Regions from separate parts of the Homo sapiens genome. Here region 1 is linked to region 2. The links are contacts of gene promoters, found by promoter capture Hi-C in blood cells and fetal thymus (Javierre and others, 2016). All regions are on one chromosome and are shown on one strand. The core of a region is centred on a gene start or on the middle of the fragment in contact, and the rest is flanking DNA. Distances in the headings are between cores, read along the strand shown. Region 1 has its middle 38 kb from the start of BMP3. Region 2 holds the start of LINC01088 (long intergenic non-protein coding RNA 1088).

Region 1 (4,148 bases), core at 326-2,825, 2.0 Mb before region 2:
CTTGTCTAACGTAATGATAAAGAAACTGAGTCCTGGAGGTGCTCATGAACTGGTCTCCATTTCTGTTTCTTCTCTCTTCTGTTACTCCTTTTATGCATTTTTGACATGGTGCTCTAGATAGAGGGGTCACAGCTGCTCAGAGTGCTCTATTGTAAGCATGGTTCAGGAGTGGCAGGTTTCATGTAAGTTGGATTCTGTTCACTGGTAGGAGATCAATGTGTGAGTGGCTTCAGACGGCTTTGCTTTGCTTTCCAGATGAAAACCTGACAGAGTCCAGGCACCTTGGATACCGCTGTGTGCTGACAAATGACTTGAAAAATGGGGGATGAGAGAGGGTGCTGGTGGGTGGGAGAAGGACCAATCTGCTCCTGGGAATACTTTAGACAAAAAAACTAAGGGCTACAAAGTGACTCTTGAGTATGTGACTTTTTAAAACCCTCATTTATTTTAACTGGAGCAGCTCTTTTCGTCATGAGTTGTTTTATATTTTACTTGATATGCAATGTCAACTACCATAGAATTGGTCTTGATCCTTCTTATTATAAAGGCTAAGTTAGAAATTAATTTCATTTTTAACAATGTATTGGGCAAGCTTATTATGGGAATAAGAGGAAGTGTACTTTGTCCACTCTTTATAGTACTTATTCTTCTTCCTCTGTATGATATTGGAATCTGAGTTATGTGCAGAAACATTTACACTTTAACCTTGGTTTGTACACAGAGAAAACCAAAATTCAGCTTTTTATCCCAGAAGTTAATTTTGCATTCCAAACTTTTAATAGGAGTGTTTTATATTCCTCTGGATAAATCTATTTGACCCTCACAATACATATTTATGTACTTAATTAGTAGACCCTGATTCTGTGATCACTTTTTTTTTCTTTTTGTCAAGACAGTGTCTTTTTACATTGCCCCGGCTGGTCTCAAACTCTCGGCCTCAAGCAATCTTCCTGTGTTGGTGTTGGGCTCCTAAAACACTGGGATTACAGGCATGAGCCACCATGCCTGACCTGTGACCACTTTTTAATATTCTATTGGAGCTAACTACCTTCCTGACAATTCCGGATGAGTTATGTTGGGTGTGTAACATTGGGAAATAGTATATGTATTTCTGACCCTTGATAATTAAAGAACAACAATAAAATGGTATCAGCAGAAAGAAACAAGAAAAAAGGAAAGGGAAGAAGGAAAAAACGAATGTAGAAAAAAGGAAGGAAAGGAAATAGGGAGAGAGGGAGGAAAAATACTGACTATAAGGAGAAATTCATTGTGTGGCTAGGTTAAGAGCCAACAGAAAGTAATGGGTTTCTATAAAAGTAAGAGGCTTAGGTAAATAGAGGAAGCTCATGAGAAAAGGCAAAAGCTCAATTTATGCTCATCTTTTGTTTTATGTTCCTGAGAATCAACACTCTATGCTACTAGAGATTTCTTCCCCATTGAAGTCTTTTATTGAGGCCCTGTCCACTATGTGATTATTCCTTGTTGTTCTGTTTCTCTACTCCTGGTAGAAACAAGAGGGTATTGAGGGATGTCTATGTTCAATTTGCTTAATTCAGTAACTTGCTGATAGAGATCAGGCGTGCGCTCTAGCCAAAAAGAGTGGAATCTGTAATCTTACATAGCAGACTAAAATCACCTCTTTTCTGTATATTGACTGTGTGATCTTGTGCAAGTTATAAAACGTCTCTGATTCTCACTTCCTTAATCTGCTTAATAGGGAAAATAATTAGTTTTTATAGAAGTGTGCTTGAGGGACGTTGTACCAGAGTGTGAGAGGCAGGTGTGAACATCTCTTCTAACTCCATGATCAGAGATGCCACATTCGTAGCTTTAAATAGAAATATTAGTAGTGAAAATATTTACACTACAGAAATTGGCAAAGACTTCAAATCAGGGTTTTTTTTCTTTTCAGAGATTGTTATTAAACATTTATTACCTCTTTGCTTATGTATGAAATGAGATAATAAGTAGGATTTTGCCAATTGTAGGGATGCAGTATATATTTTCCTTACTTCAGCCATCCCTATAGAATATTTGCATCTGAAAACCTTTGATTTTTATGCTTTTAAATAAAATAAAACAAATGACAATAAAATTTTACTTAGAAACTCAATTTCATATTACAATCTCTGTACTTTATGATATTTTATCTGGCTCAGTTCTTTTTTTCTCTCTATCTTTTGACACTACTCTGAAGAATTCAGAAGTTCCGTCACTTTTCTTGAATTTTTCTTACATGATGTCTAGTACAGTGTCCCATGAAGATAATTATTATATTGCATTTTGATGATGATTTTCAGTGTGAGCCTAGATTGTTCAATATTATCTTTAATGAACAGTGTTAAGAGTTAAAAGTTCAATGCAAAAATTATAATAGTTTTCACACATATTAAAGGTGGAAGAAAGTTTTCGTGAGGAAGATGATCTATGTGCTGATCTGCGGAATATGCTAAGATATCCCTGTGAGAAGGGCAAGACTAAAGAGTAAGACAGATGGGTCAGAGAGGACCGAATTGCTAGAGAAAGGGCAGAAACCTGGGATATAGCTGAAAAGCTTTGTGTCAGTGAGAAGTTTGAGGCACAGTTGGAAGAGCAGACAAAGACTACACCTTAAAAGGCCAACAGAGGAGTTTGTACTTCCTTTACCAGACAAGAAAAGGATGCTAGAGTATGAAATAATCAGAGGTACATTTTAGGAAGAATAATTAGGCAGTGTAAACTACGAATTGGGAGAGGAAGGATTGCAGAGTCATATATAAAGAGTATCAGCCTCCCTTAGCCTCAGTTTCCATACCTGGCAACTGTGAATAATAATGTTCTCTTCTAGGTTTATGATGATAATTAGATCAAGCCATGTCTATGGATGGACATGCCTCTGGCATAGAGTAGATATCAAGAGGGCTTTTCTCTCTTTCCAAATTGCTCTTAAATGAAGGGATTTTTAATTGAAGATTGCCTTGCCTAAAGAAAGGGAAATTTTAAATAATTTGACAAAATATAAAGTATACAAGATCCTTTTATAAAATATAAAATATAAAATATGGGAGCTGAGAACATATAACTGGATAGAAAAGATGCCAACAATCTATAGAGAAATTGATGTAAGCTGTTGTATATTTAAAAGATTTAAGAACAAGAGGAGAAAGATGTGTAGGAGGTGGACAAGCTATAGAAATACCATTGTAGGATGCAGGCTCTGATTCTCAGCATTCCAGTAATTAGCACATCTTGACAGGGTGAAAGCGGCCACCCAGTCTCTCTCTTTGAAGGGGCAGAGGTCATTGACAGCTGGTGCTTGGGCCTTTGGGGGAATATTCTGCTTGAGGCCAGCTGGGGGAAATAGATCCCCAGGAAGAGTGGTCACTCAATGATGAGAGCTCTGTTCCTCTTTCTTGTAAACAGTGAACACCCTTGAAGACCCATCTGCACTGTTGCAATACATTCTGCACCTGGGTTTTTGTTTTCTTTGCTGAAGAACAGTCGCCTGGTATGCATCAGGAGTTCCCATCTGTCTCACAGATAGTCATGGAGTTCTTGACTGCATGCATTTTGTCTGAGAATAAGTGGTTCAGTTCATTCCTACTCTAAAACAAAATCTCACCCTGGTCCCAAATCTCAATATTATAAATATTTCAGTGGCAGAATCTGGTTGTAGCAGAAAATGAAAAAATCATATACCTACACAAGACTTAGAAATGGTATCCTTCTTGCTTCGTCATTTAATTAAAGTCTACTACTTCTTCAGACTTCGATTTCAGAATTTTTGGTAAACTGTAGTCTAGGTAAACTGTTTTGGTAAACAGTGTCTAGGAAAACAATATTCCTCTGAAAATTCTAAAACACTTTACATTTGTCACTTGGTGAGAAATGCTGAAATTTGCATTTTAAAATAAAAAAAAATAGAGTGCCAAAAAGTAAAATATTTTCCAATATCCCTTTTAAAAGCCAGAGAAACAAAAGGCAGATAAGTCATGACTCCATAAGCTTTCAAATTCTAATTCTGTCTACTTCTATTTACATTGTCTCTCTGAAGTTTGTACCTGCATGGTTTTGTTGCATACAGAGCATTATACCTTGCCCCAAAGGCATCAACATTTGATTGAGGCATGCACTTTTGCCCTTTCCTCAAGAGAGAGCCAAAGACGTTT
Region 2 (4,075 bases), core at 857-3,356:
CTACTGGTTGTGGGATCTTGAGCAAGCTCCTTAACCTTGCTTTGCCTCAGTTTCCTCAACTGCAAACTAGAGATCAGAGTTCCATCTTCTGGGATTATTGAGTGGAACATGTGAGATAACGCATGTAAAATATTTGGGAAAGTGTCCAGTACATAGTAAGTTCTATACAGGTATTTGCTATTATTATTTATCAGCTGTGAGCATCACTCATTATGCTGTAAGGTGCACAAAGGCTGGAATTGTTTCTGTATTTCCCACTCCTCATATCTGCTTTCAAATAGTTTTTGGAGGAAGAAAGTTGTGAAATCCCAAAGTTTCCTCTGCCATCACTAAATCTCTTCATCTCATTCACAGCTCTGCCACATTCTCTACGGTCACCACCATTGGAGTTGCTGTCACCACAGCTACCACAGCCCCTTTACTGACACATCCAAATACCTTAAGTTCAAAAGGCTGTGGCATCAGATTCAGAAAGAAGAGTGCTAATTCTAAAAGATAGCCATTCGAGCAGCAGCAATGTAACAGATGTTTTGTTGATTTAGCAATTATTTCAAAGGTAACAAAAACTCTGGCTAACAATAGAGGAGGAAGGAGCTTACGCTCCAGAAGAAACACACCAACAACTACAAATTCACAGCCACTATCCACCAAGGGGGTACAAAATAATAGTAAGAATAACAATAACAAAAACAACAATGAAAGCACTAAGATGCTTTCAAGGGAGGCACCATAGCAGAGTCGTCATGAGCACAAGACCTGGATCCTGCCAATCTGGGTCTCAAGCCCATCTCTGTTACTTACTAGCTGTGAAACGCTGAGCTGTTTCTTAATTTTTACGTGATTTAGCTTCCTCTCTGAAAAATGAAGATAAAAATAGTATCAGCACCACTACAGTATTACTATAAGGACTAAAGAATTACCTTTTGTAGAGAACTTGGAACAGTGACTGGCACATAAAAAGTATTCAATTAATGTTGGTTATTTTTGTTAATTGAAAGAGTTTTCACAGACATATCTCAAAGGACCAGCACTGAGAGTTTTCCACACATATATTATGCAGACACACACACACCCAAGACCTTTTTCCCGACACCTCACATTAACACTACACTTTGATACAGTGTGTACTCTCTCAGGCCCTTTCCTTGGGCTCTTACACAAAGCCAAGAGTTCTGCCTGTTGCTCTTTTCCCTGATGTGACTATTACCTGTGTTAAGACAGGTATCTTAACATGCATAGATCTTAAATCAATCTATGCATGGCTACCATTATTTCACTGCAGAACACGGACTAATAGTCCCAGCTTTACTTCTCAATCGAGGCTTTCTGTAAGAAGAAGAGCTTCCTATCCAGGTTTTCTTATGAACACACAAAGACCAATCTTTTATCCATGGCCTAACCCAGTGTTTACCAAACTTGAATACATCTGAAGACTTGCAAAGCTCTATCAATTTCTGTCTGAGAGACATATTCCAACCCTTAAATTTATGAAAGACTCAACAAGCTGAAAAAGCAAGCAATACAATTTCAGAGAAGTAGTTTATCCAAGGATACATGGACAGTAAAAAGTAGAACTATGCCTTAAAACCCTTCTTTTGACTTTAGTACAATGTTTTCTTTTAAATTTTATTTATTCAAGAAGTTTGGAATTTAGAAATCATGGAGATGATTGGGCAAACCTAATACTAAAGGAAAAGTCAGATAATCCATAATATCATTGCTTTTTATCCCATTAAAAAAGCTGAGAATACTAATAAAGCTAACTTAACTAAAATCTGTATAGTTATGATCCCGTTCTATAAAAGAAGAGACCAGTGAATTTTTTCATCCCTGGTGGTGCAGCAGGAAACAGAATCTACCACAGAAAAGAAAATGAGGAACTACATGAATCTTAGACAACTATTAAGACCTGTGTGTGAACTAGCTTGACATGCTGGAGTCCCAAGGAACCCATCCACACCATCAAGCTGTACTCACCTGCCAGCACTTTACCACAGGTCTTCACCAGGCACAGAGGAGGACTATACTGAAGACTGAGGGAAAGTCAAGAAATCTGAGAGAGAGAGATCCTTGAGGCATGTGAACCTTCCCTAAGTGCAAGGCAGCATCCCAGTGAAGACTGGAGTCAGGGCAGAAGAGTTAAAAGAAATCTGTCTGAGAAAGTCTAGGCCTTCACTAGGTCAAAACAGTTGCAACGGAGGCCAGAAATAAGGCAGAAGAACTGAGAACAGTTGCTCAGAGTGTTGCAAACTTTCATTAAGTACAAGGCACTGGATGCCAAAGGCTTGAAGCAGCAGAGCAAAAAGAAGAGAGACCTCCTGAGATTAATAAAGTCAGAAACAGGAAAGGAAAAAGAACTCCCTAGCAACCAAAACAGTCTGGGAGCACACAGAGATCTCTGAAATCTTGCCAGTGCTCAGATCACAAGCCCTAGTGATAGAAAAGACCTTATTCTGTTTTCAAAACATTTGAAGTCAGTGGTAAACTAATCCAACTAAAGCTGAAATAATCCCACATACCTCAAATATACAACAGATTTCCTCAACTTTCCCAAGAAAAGGTCTAACAAAAAAAGTATGCACTTTTTTAGGGTAAATAAATATTAATTTTCTCAATCTCTACTATTTTTCTCACAATATCCAACATAGAGTAAAAAATTTTGAGACCCACAAAGAGAAAAAATGTGAGCAATAATCAAATGAGAAAACAGTCAACAGGCTGAGACTCTAGAAAGCACAGACGTTAGATTTATCAGGGAGTAACTTCAGCATAACTATGATAAATATGTCAAATAATTCAGTGGAAAAGGTAGAGAGCATGCATGAATATATAGAGAATTTCAGCAGAGTAATGAAAAGTATGAAAAGAAACCAAACTGCAATGTCAAAATTTGTTTTTAAAATACACTGTCATCAAAAGAGAATACATATTAGGAGTCTAACAGGCCATAAAACACAACAGTAGCCTATTAGCAGCAGCAAAAAGCAGAAGTAAACCTGAGGACAGGTCAATTATCCAAAAATAAATAAATAAATAAAAGGGGGAATGAGTGAAAAACTTGAGTCTATGATCTCTAGGACAATATTAAGTAGCCTAGTAAATATGTAATTGCATCTGTGAGAGATAGAAAATGAGTCAGAAGAAATCCTTGAAAACATAATGGCCAAGAATTTCTCAAAATTGATTAAAAATATCAAACCTCAGCATCAGGAATCATAGTAACCCCAAAAGAGGATAAACACAAAAACAGAACTAGGCACACCATACTCACTCTGTTGATAGCCAAAGATGATACAAAAATCTTAAAAGCAGTCAGAGAAAAAAGAAACATTACACGGAAGAAAAAAATGATAAAAATTATGTCTAATTTCTCTTCAGAAACAATTACTCCAAAACAATGGAATGACATCTTTAAAGAGCTGAAAGTGAAACATGTTAGTCTGGAATTCTGTATAGGATTCTAAATAGATTCTACATAAAATTGTAGCATAGTCCTATATCCTACAAAAATGAAAAATAAAGACATTTTCATACCCTTCTCCCCAAATCAGATTTTTTTTCCAGGAGACCTACACAAGAAATGCTAAAAGAAATTCTTCAGGGCCGGGCGCGGTGGCTCACGCCTGTAATCCCAGCACTTTGGGAGGCTGAGGCAGGCGGATCACAAGGTCAGGATTTCGAGACCATCCTGGCTAACATGGTGAAACCCCATCTCTACTAAAAATACAAAAAATTAGCCAGGCCTGGTGGCAGGCGCCTGTAGTCCCAGCTACTCGGGAGGCTGAGGCAGGAGAATGGCATGAACCCAGGAGGTGGAGTGTGCAGTGAGCCTAGATAATGCCACTGCACTCCAGCCTGGGTGACAGAACGAGACTCCGTCTCAAAAAAAAAAAAAAAAGAAAAAAGAAATTATTCAACATGTACATAATAGGCACATAAAATAGGCACAACAAACCATTTGGCAAAATCCAACATCCATTCCTCATAAAACGACTCAGTGAAAAAGAAACTGAAGAGAATTTTCTCAACCAAAAAAAAGCACCTATGAAAATGTATTATACTGAAAGATAAAAGA

The links. The method cuts DNA at HindIII sites, captures the fragments that hold promoters and counts their contacts. A CHiCAGO score of 5 or more calls a contact.
Region 1: a contact is called between a fragment that was not itself captured here and the fragment with the promoter of LINC01088 in region 2, in 1 of 17 cell types (M0 macrophages). The highest score is 5.1, in M0 macrophages.

The regions. Positions count from the first base shown.
Region 1 is chr4:80,990,311-80,994,458 of GRCh38, reverse strand. No RefSeq gene overlaps it. Among named protein-coding and RNA genes, the nearest start is that of BMP3, 38 kb to the left of the region's middle. The HindIII fragment of the contact is 1,962 bases long and covers 595-2,556 here.
Region 2 is chr4:78,969,779-78,973,853 of GRCh38, reverse strand. It overlaps LINC01088 (long intergenic non-protein coding RNA 1088), which reads right to left and starts at 2,106. Exons shown (of 6, transcript NR_038342.1): 1 at 1,978-2,106; 2 at 802-854. The HindIII fragment of the contact is 4,785 bases long and covers 1-4,075 here.